Regions from separate parts of the Homo sapiens genome. Here all the other regions are linked to region 3. Evidence: promoter capture Hi-C in human tissues and cell types (Jung and others, 2019). All regions are on one chromosome and are shown on one strand. Each heading gives the region's core, a stretch centred on a gene start or on the middle of the fragment in contact. The rest is flanking DNA. Distances are from core to core; before and after follow the strand shown. Region 1 holds the start of DNHD1 (dynein heavy chain domain 1). Region 2 holds the start of OR56B4 (olfactory receptor family 56 subfamily B member 4). Region 3 has its middle 29 kb from the start of CAVIN3.

What was found. The method cuts DNA at HindIII sites, captures the fragments that hold promoters and counts their contacts. A contact is called where the count stands out against the background at its distance.
Region 1: a contact is called between the fragment with the promoter of DNHD1 here and a fragment that was not itself captured in region 3, in 1 of the 25 tissues and cell types used here (pancreas).
Region 2: a contact is called between the fragment with the promoter of OR56B4 here and a fragment that was not itself captured in region 3, in 2 of the 25 tissues and cell types used here (mesendoderm cells and neural progenitor cells).

Annotation. Positions count from the first base shown.
Region 1 is chr11:6,496,022-6,498,880 of GRCh38, reverse strand. DNHD1 (dynein heavy chain domain 1) reads right to left here and starts at 1,601. Exons shown (of 43, transcript NM_144666.3): 1 at 1,550-1,601; 2 at 1,214-1,296; 3 at 1-1,110. The coding sequence starts at 665. The HindIII fragment of the contact is 8,534 bases long and covers 1-2,859 here.
Region 2 is chr11:6,105,623-6,108,964 of GRCh38, reverse strand. OR56B4 (olfactory receptor family 56 subfamily B member 4) reads right to left here and starts at 1,281. Exons shown (of 1, transcript NM_001005181.2): 1 at 130-1,281. The coding sequence starts at 1,186. The coding sequence ends at 227. All of the region lies in intron 2 of LOC124902622 (a long non-coding RNA gene), which reads left to right. The HindIII fragment of the contact is 6,854 bases long and covers 1-3,342 here.
Region 3 is chr11:6,347,763-6,350,964 of GRCh38, reverse strand. No RefSeq gene overlaps it. Among named protein-coding and RNA genes, the nearest start is that of CAVIN3, 29 kb to the right of the region's middle. The HindIII fragment of the contact is 9,857 bases long and covers 1-3,202 here.

The sequences.
Region 1 (2,859 bases), core at 352-2,851, 150 kb before region 3:
AGTGCCAAGGGAAGGAGACTAAGTCCATCCAGCCACACAGCCTCTTCTAGGGCCACCTGAGCACCAACAATGCCCAGGCAGCGCTGTAGCTCAGGCAGTGTCAATGGTCGCAGCCAGGTGGCCAGCTCCTCCTTTACTTGCTGCCTGCTCCACTGGGCCTGCACAAAAGGGCAAGCTGGGCATGGGGGCCTGTGATGGAGCCTCCGCTTCTGGGGACAGCAGTCAGCATGGGAAGCACTGTCTAACAAAGAGCTGTCTGGAGGAAAGGCCTGGACAATGGCACCTAGCAGGTCCAGATGGAGGTGGGTTTGGACCCAGGGTGCCCAGCAGTACAGCTGCTCCAGGAAGGGCAGCAAATCAAGGTGGCCAACTAGCAACTCACGATATGGAGGCAGTAGACCCAGTACTGCATGAAGATAGCGCCAAGCTGCAGGGCTACTGTCCTGCAACACAGCTGAGAACAGAGTTCGGAGCTCAGCTAGCAGGAGTTCCAGCACTGTGGGCTGCTCTGACTCAGTCACTGGCTTCACGAACTGCCTCTGTTTCTGCTGGCAGGCCAAGGGCTGTTCTTTGCTGTCCAAGACACATATGGAGTGCCAAGACTTAAGGGAATCAGATGATGTCTCATCAGAAGACAAACCTACCCTCCTCTCCTCCGGGACCATGAGGAGCTGGGCATTCAACTGCTGTCGAAGTGACCTTGCCCATAGCTCAGGCTCCAACTGCCAGTTCCAGGATGCCAGATGCGGGGCCTCACCTGCATGGGCCAGCCCAGCAGAGGGGCCAGAGAAGGGACCTCAGGCTCTGGGCAGGGGATGGTCAGAGTCAATGGGGTTAGGAGGAAGAAAGGACCTGGGACAGGGAAATAGATGGAGCTACAGAGCAGAGCCAGACCAGCAGAGAGCCTTTCCTGAGACCCTCAGGCCCTCCCTACTGCTTCCCCAAAGACTCTGGTAAGGAGCAGGCCTAAGACAGACGTGAGAGCCCTCCTTGCAGAAGAGTTCCTTCTTACCTCCCAGTACCCTGTCCCCCTCACCTGGCCTAGGGGGGTTAGGAGGCAAGGCAAGGGAAGAGAGCCCGATCTGCTGATGAGGTTTCATTGAAGAGTGCCTGCTGGAGCAGTGAATGAACTTAGACTTGAGTTCCAGTCTGAGGCTCACCCTAATCATAGCCACCCATACACGGAGAGACTCGCACACAGACGTGCAATCACCTGAAGAGGCAAACTGACACACCGACAGAGCTCACTCTGAACCTCGGTCACAGCAAGGAATCTGCACTCGAGCTGGCGATCGCCTGAAAAACGGGTTAACAGGTCGTCACTCGAAGGCAGCAGAGCCCCAGTCCCATGACGTCTTCGCCCACAGCCTAAGGAGGTCGTGAAGACAGAAAGCCGAGGAGCAGGCACAGCAAATGATGGTCAGGATGCAGGTAGGGGAAGACGTTAACAGGCAAAGGAGGGGGCTGGGAGAGCGGGGAAGAGGAGGCGGACTCTGTGGGAGGGGGTCCTAGGGAACAAAGAGAAATGGATCCGGAGCCGAGGACTCACCCGCAGCTCCACCCGCACCCAGCTGTTAGAACCGTTACAAGATTCCAGAAGGACCGAGTCTTTGCCAGGAGCATCCGGGGGAGCCAGAAAGAGGAGGGGCCAGGGTCCGATATGGGCGGGGCCGAGAGGGCAGAGCCCAAGCCTGGAGGGGCAGAACTAGGTTCAACCTGTGGGCTAAGGCTTGCCTGGGACAGGGACCTGTAGAGGACCAGGCGGGGTCTGAACTGCACGTGCAGTACGGTTGACTCGGGAGACTAGCAATCCAGAGGGTGTCGTAAGCAGGTGTTTATATCCATTCGCTGAGTATCTAAACTAGTGCCAGGTCTTTGGTATGTCTTTGGTACTCCCCCATCCCCACCCCCAACGTATCCATCTACCCTATCCCACCTCCCCAAAAGAAGCCCGAATAAAACAAAATCCTTGATCTCAAGGAGCTCAACATCTATTTGGCACGGGGGGAGGGGGATTTTTTGGGGAAGGGCTTATGGAGGGGCTAATTTTTAAAAATTAAGTTGAATGAGGCCGGGCGCGGTGGCTCATGCCTGTAATCCCAGCATTTTGAGAGGCCGAGGCGGGTGGATCACGAGGTCAGGAGATCGAGACCATCCTGGCTAACACGGTGAAACCCTGTCTCTACTAAAAATACAAAAAAATTAGCCGAGCGTGGCGGTGGGCGCCTGTAGTCCCAGCTACTGGGGAGGCTGAGGCAGGAGAATGGCGTGAACCCAGGAGGCGGAGCTTGCAGTGAGCAGAGATCGCGCCACTGCACTCCAGCCTGGGCGACAGAGGGAGACTCTATCTCAAAAAAAAAAAAAAAAAAAAAAAAGTTGATGATTAAAATAAAAAAAGAAATTCAGCCCACCTCTCCTCTGAAATCAGATTAGTATATCCAACTGCCTACTTAATGTCTCCACCTGGAGAGCTTATAGGTATCTCAAACTTAAAATGTCCAAAAGCAGGCTCCTAACCACCCTTTCCCCACCAAAGAAATGCTGCTCCTTTCACTGTCTTTCCCACCTCAGTCAATGGCAAATCCATTCTTTCTGGTTTCTCACACCAAAACCTTGGAGTCAGCTTTGAGACCTCTTCCAAACCCCTTCTTTCTCTTTCCCTCTTCTTTTTCCCTTTCTCTTTCTCTCTCTCCCCCTCCCTCCATAAGTAATCCTTCAGGAAATTCTGCTGGTTGTGCCTTCAGAATATATCCAGAATCCAACTATTTCCCACCATCTTAAGTACTACAACCTTGGTCTAAGCTGCTATCATTTCTCACCTGGGTTTTTCCACAGCCTTTGAACTGTTCTCCTTGCCTC
Region 2 (3,342 bases), core at 32-2,531, 240 kb after region 3:
TAGTTAGAAACATTTCACTTTTTTGTTCTTACTTATTTTCCAGGTAATAGGAAATTTTCTTGTAATTTTAATATACATATTTTGATTAGTGAGGCTGACAGTTTTCATGATTTTATTGGCCATTTTTTTCCTAGGGAGTGTGGTAAGTGCAGATTATAACCCTGATCTATTGAGAACTAAAACCTCTGTCATTTCCTAACATCTTACTGGATTCCTAAAGCTGGAGTTACTTGGACACGTCCTGACCCAGTCCAAGCAGTCTCTGAAAGCCCAGTCTGAGTTTGTGCATCCTGAGTGCACAGGCCAGGGGGTTGAGTGCAGGGGGGATGACATTGTGCAGCACATTAAGGAACACAGGAATAAGGGGAATCTTTTTCTCTGCAAGGTGTGTGACAGACAGCACAATGATACCTGTGTGGAAGAGGATGAGGATGAGGTGGGAGCTACAAGTGCTCAGAGCCTTGGACATTGCTTCTGCTGAGTTCAGCCTCAGCACAGAGTGAAGGATTACAGCATAGGAAGAAAATACCAGAGCCATATCACTCCCAACCAAGACCCATGCTAGCATCAGTTGGTAAAATTTGTTCACAGTGATGTCATCACAAGCCAGGCTGATAACCCCCAAGTTAGAGCAGAGGCAGTGCTCGATTTCATTCCTGGAACAGTAGTGTCTCTGGGCAGCCAGTATAGGCACTGGGATGGTCAACAGGCCATTCCTGAGCATGATGAACCCTGTGGCTTTGAAGACAAAAGCTTTAGTGACTATGGAGGGGTACTGAAGAGGGCGACAGATGGCTATGTATCTGTCTACTGCCATGCAGAGAAAGATGCCTGACTCTATGCAGAAGAAGCAGTGGATGGCATAGATCTGAGCAAAACACATGGGGAGGCTAATGGCCTTGGCATCAAACCAGAAGATGGCCAGGATCTTGGGCATGATGGTGGTGGCCAGGCCAATGTCCACCACTGCTAATATGCCCAGCAAATGGTACATGGGTTCATGTAGCACGGTCTCATGTTGAATGGTGATTATGATGAGGAGATTGGCACCAAGAGCTAAGAGGTAGAGCAGAGTCAGGGGCAGGGAGAGCCAGTGCTGCCACTCATGAATGCCTGGTAATCCCATCAGGATGAACTGGGAAATCTGGAGGCTGGAGTCATAGGTAACACTGGTGGAGGTATCCATGGAATGGGTGCCTCAGTCTCAGTGTCTGTCTGAAATAGAAGAAATCTCTGTTTAAAAGTTCAGCTAAGGGGCTGAGCATCGTGGTTCATGCCTGTAATCCCAGCACTTTGGGAGGCTGAGACAGGCAGATAATTTGAGGTCAGGAGCTCGAGACTGACCTGGCTAACATGGCAAAATCTCATCTCTGCGGAGAATACAAAAATTAGCTGGGTGTGGTGGTGCCTGTCTGTAATCCCAGCTACTTGGGAGGCTGAGGCATGAGAATCATTGAACCTGGGAGGCGGAGGTTGCCGTGAGCCGAGATTGTGCCACTGCACCCCAGCCTGGACAACAGAGTGAGACCCTGTCTTAAAAAACAAAACAAAACAAAAAGTTAAGTGTCTTGGTAAGAGCTCCTCAATAATGAACCAGCTCCTTTTATTCATGAATGACCCTCAACTTTATTTGACTTCTGGAAATATTCCACAGAGGAATAACAAAAAAAGCAAAAAAATTCTAAACAGAAGAGTTGGAATAACTATTTTTCATCACCACTTGTATGTCTAATAAGCATGTCCACATATATTAACAACAGTCTTATCACTAACAGATAACAAATGTTAGTATTTGATTTATTTCCAATTTTCTATTTTATTTTTAAACAGTCTACATCATTATCTAGAGATGATTTTGTATCTTGTTTTTGTCTTTTAGCAGTATGTGTTAAGATGTAATATAAGCACTCAAAAATTTTATTTCATGGATGAATACATTAACCAAAGACTTCACAATATTATTTAAAAAGTGTGATGTTAATTTTAATTGCTGCTTTAAATTTTTGCATTTGGCTATTCTATAATTTACTGACAGGTATTTTGCTTTTAATATTGTTTTCCTTGAGTAGAGTTTCAAAAGTGATGCAAAAATTATATATACAAAGGATATAATAGTCTTAAAATTTTAAATATAATTTTGATTTTATTTTAAGATATATTATCTATACATGGTAAAAATCAAAATAAAATGAAAAATATAAACAATGAAAAGTAAGACTCTCATGCTTGGGGCTTTGAAATCTTTTTCCTTTTCACTAGAGGCAGCCAGTAATATGTTTCTTGGGAATCCTTCCATTAATAGTTTATGCATGGATAAAAACATATATATATATATATATATATATATATAATTTTCATAAAAGACATAATCAATTGTTAGCACACCTTTCTCCTTTTTTCTTTCCTTTTCTTTTTTAACTTAATATTTTGAAGACTGCTCCATATTTCCATACTGCAGTTAAGTTGCATTATTTTCTACCACCTAGATGCCCTATAGTTTAATGATTTTTTTTTGTATTTTTAGAATTGATATATCATATTTGTAGATATTTTGGAGGTACATGTGATATTTTGATACATGTATACAATGTGTAATGATCGAATCAGTGTAATTAGGATATCCATCACCTCAAGCATTTATCTTTTCTTTGTGTTAGGAACATTGCAATTCTCTTTTAGCGATTTTGAAACATACAGTAAATTATTAACTATAATTTTCCTACTGTGCTATTGAATACTAGAACTTATTTCTTCCACCTAACTGTATTTTTGTCCCCATCAGCCACCCTCTATTCTTCCCCTACCCCCACCCTTTCCGGCCTCTGGTAACCACCATTCTATTCATTACTTCTGTGAGATCCACTTTTTTTCTTTTTCCGGCTCACTGCAAACTCCACCTCCCAGGTTCAAGCGATTCTCCTGCCTCAGCCTCCCGAGTAGCTGGGATTACAGGTGTGTGCCACCACACCCGGCTAATTTTTGTATTTTTAGTAGAGATGGGGTTTCACCATGTTGGCGAGGCTGGTCTCAAACTCCTGACCTCAGGTGATCTGCCTGCCTTGGCCTCCCAAAGTGCTGGGATTACAGGCGTGAGCCACCGTGCCCAGCTGAGATCCACTTTTTAAGCTCCCAAACATGTGTAGGAACATGTAATATTTGTCTTTCTCTACTTGATTTATTTCACTTAACACAATAACCTCCAGTTCCATTCATGTTTCTGCAAATGACAGGATTTTATTCCTTTTTGTGGCTGAATAATAGGCCACTGTGTGTGTGTGTGCGTATCACATTGGATATATATATACACTCTCTATACTATATACAGTGTGTGTATATATAGTG
Region 3 (3,202 bases), core at 609-3,108:
CTGGAGAAAAAGATAAGCCAAGAAGATGCGGGTTGGGACCAAAGGATGCATCTGATACATCAATCAAGTCTTCTTCCCTAAACTTCCCAGTTTTTGCCCAATGGCTTCATGAATAAATTGGCAATGAGATTCGGAATGTTAACTAGGTTTTGGCTCATAATAGAATTCTCTTGGCTGTGTCTTATTTGGCTACTGCCACAGCCAAATATGCAAATTGCCAATTAACAGTGACAAACTCTTAATCCATATTATGAGACCATAATTTAATGGGATCAGCCAGCTAATGCTACCAGCTAGATTGTTTTTAGGCATGTTTCATTACATAGGTGACAGACATTTGTCCTCATTGGAATAGACACTTATTCTGAATTTGGGTGTTACTTCTCCATTTGTCACACTCCTGCCAGCACTGACATCTGCGAACTTACTGAAAGTCTTATGTATTGTCATGGAGTCATATATACTGTTATATCTTGTTATCAGTTATTTAATGCTGCATAACAAGCCATCCCAAAACATAGTGGCTTAAAACAGTAACCATATATTATTGCCCATGAATCTGTGGGTCACCATGTTGATCAGCTGCAGGTTGACTGGTCTAGGATGGCCTCACTCACATGTCTGGTGGTTGGCTGGCTGATGGCTGGGTGACATGGGAGACTGGGACATGTGTCTCATCAAGCATCAAGTTACCCTGGTGTTATTTACATGGCAGGGTCAGGTTTCCAAAAGAGAGACCAGAAGTTTGAAGCATACATTCAGAAATAGTATGATGACACTTCTGCTGCATTCTATTGGCCAAAGCAAACCATAAGGCCAGTCTAGATTCAGTGTGTGAGGAAACAGACTTTCTTGATGGAAGGATTGAAAAGTCACATTTCAAAAAGTATGGATACAGGGAGGCAGGGGAAGCATAGGGTCTTTTTTTTTTTTTTTTTGAGACTGAGTCTTGCTCTGTTGCCCAGGTTGGAGTGCAGTGGAGCGATCTCAGCTCACTGCAAGCTCCGCCTCCCGGGTTCTCACCATTCTCCTGCCTCAGCCTCCAGCGTAGCTGGGACTACAGGTGCTCGCCACCACGCCTGGCTATTTTTTTTTTGTATTTTTAGTAGAGATGGGGTTTCACTGTGTTAGCCAGGAATGTCTGGATCTCCTGACCTTTTTTTGTATTTTTAGTAGAGATGGGGTTTCACTGTGTTAGCCAGGAATGTCTGGATCTCCTGACCTTCTGATCCGCCCACCTCAGCCTCCCAAAGTGCTGGGATTACAGGCGTGAGCCACAGCACCCGGCCAGGGTCCATTTTTACAGTTAATGTATCACAGCTCTGTCAAGAAATTTTTCATAGAAAAAGAAGTAAGGCAAAGAACCAATGTCCATGCCATTCATTGATTTCATTATGGGACCTACAGTGGATTGAACTGTGTTCTTCAAAAAGATATGTTGAAGTCCTAACTCCGGTACCTTTGAAGAGGACCTTATTTAAAAATAGGGTCTTTGCATGTGTAATTAAATTAAGATAAGGTCAGACTGGATTAGGGAGGACCCTAAACTCAATGATTGGTGTCTCTATAAGGAGAGAAAGATTTGAAAACTCTTGGATACAGAGGAAAGAAGGACCTGTGAAAATGAAGACAGAGATTGAAGTGGTGCAGTTACACGCCAAGGAATGACAAGGATTGCTGGGAGCTACCAGAGGCAAAGAATGATCCTCTCCAGAGCCTTCTGAGAGTGCCCTGCTGAGACCTTGGGCTTCTAGCTTCTAGAACCATAAGATAACAAATGAATATGTTTCTGTTGTTTTAAATCACTAATTTTGTGGCACTTTCTTATAGCAGCTCTAGAAAGCTAATATAGACCCTATCAGACAGAAGTTGCTGGCATTATAGAGAAATGAATGTTCAGCTTTGACCCTAGCTGGGGGACAATTGCTTGTGAGTTAGGCATCTTGTCTTGCTGTTGGTGATTTATGCTCTCTGCCAGATTCATATATTCATGTCTCCAAGTCAGAACACATAGGCCCAGGGATTAAGAGTTGGAGATGGGAGCATCACCACTCATAATTATACTTCAATAACCATTCTCAAAATGCTGTCTTTCTCTAACCAAGATTCTTTTACTACCAAAGTATTTAGCATCTTAGTGTTCAAAGTAAAACAAAAACAAAACAAAACAACAAAACCAAAAACAAAGTGAGAGATATTTTCACTAGGTGCCTGTAATGATGATCCCATTACATTGGAAATTGGAAACTGGTCATGTCACATTTCTCATGCCATGTGCAGAAACGGAAAAAAGATGTCCTGCTGTTATCTAGGATAATTAATCTTTTTAAAAAATTAATTTTTAAGTTGACTAATATAAATGGTATAGATTTTTTAGTGTACATGTTTTGATATATGAATACACTGTAGAATGGTTAAATTGAGCCAATTAACATATCAATTACCTCAAATACTTACACATTTTTTCTGTGGTGAGAAAGCATAATCTACTCTTAGCAATTTTCAAATGTATAATACATTGTTATTAACTATGGTCATCGTATTGTACAGTAAATCTTCTGAGCTGATTCTTCCTGTCTAACTGGAGGAAACTTTTGTGCCTTTTGATCAACGTCTCCCCAATCTCCCTACTCGCCCAGCACCCCAACCCCCAGCCCCAGCTACTGGTAACTACTTTTTTTTTTTTTTTTTTTTTTTTTTTGTTGAAACGGAGTCTGGCTCCGTCGCCCAGGCTGGAGTGCAGTGGCGCGATCTCGGCTCACTGCAAGCTCCGCCTCCCGGGTTCATGCCATTCTCCTGCCTCAGCCTCCCGAGTAGCTGGGACTACAGGCGCCCGCCACCACGACCGGCTAATTTTTTGTATTTTTAGTAGAGGCGGGGTTTCACTGTGTTAGCCAGGATGGTCTGGATCTCCTGACCTCGTGATCCGCCCACCTCGGCCTCTCAAAGTGCTGGGATTACAGGCGTGAGCCACCGCGCCTGGCCGCAGCTACTGGTAACTTCTATTCTACTCTCTGCTTCTATAAGTTTGACTTTTTAAAGATTCCACATATTTCTGAAATCATGCAATATTTGTCCTTCTGTGTCTGGCTTGTTTTACTTCACATAATGTTTTCCAGGTTTCTCCATATTGTCACAAATGAAAGGATTTCCTTCTTTATAAGGGCTGAATATATCCCACATTTTCTTTATCCATTAGGAT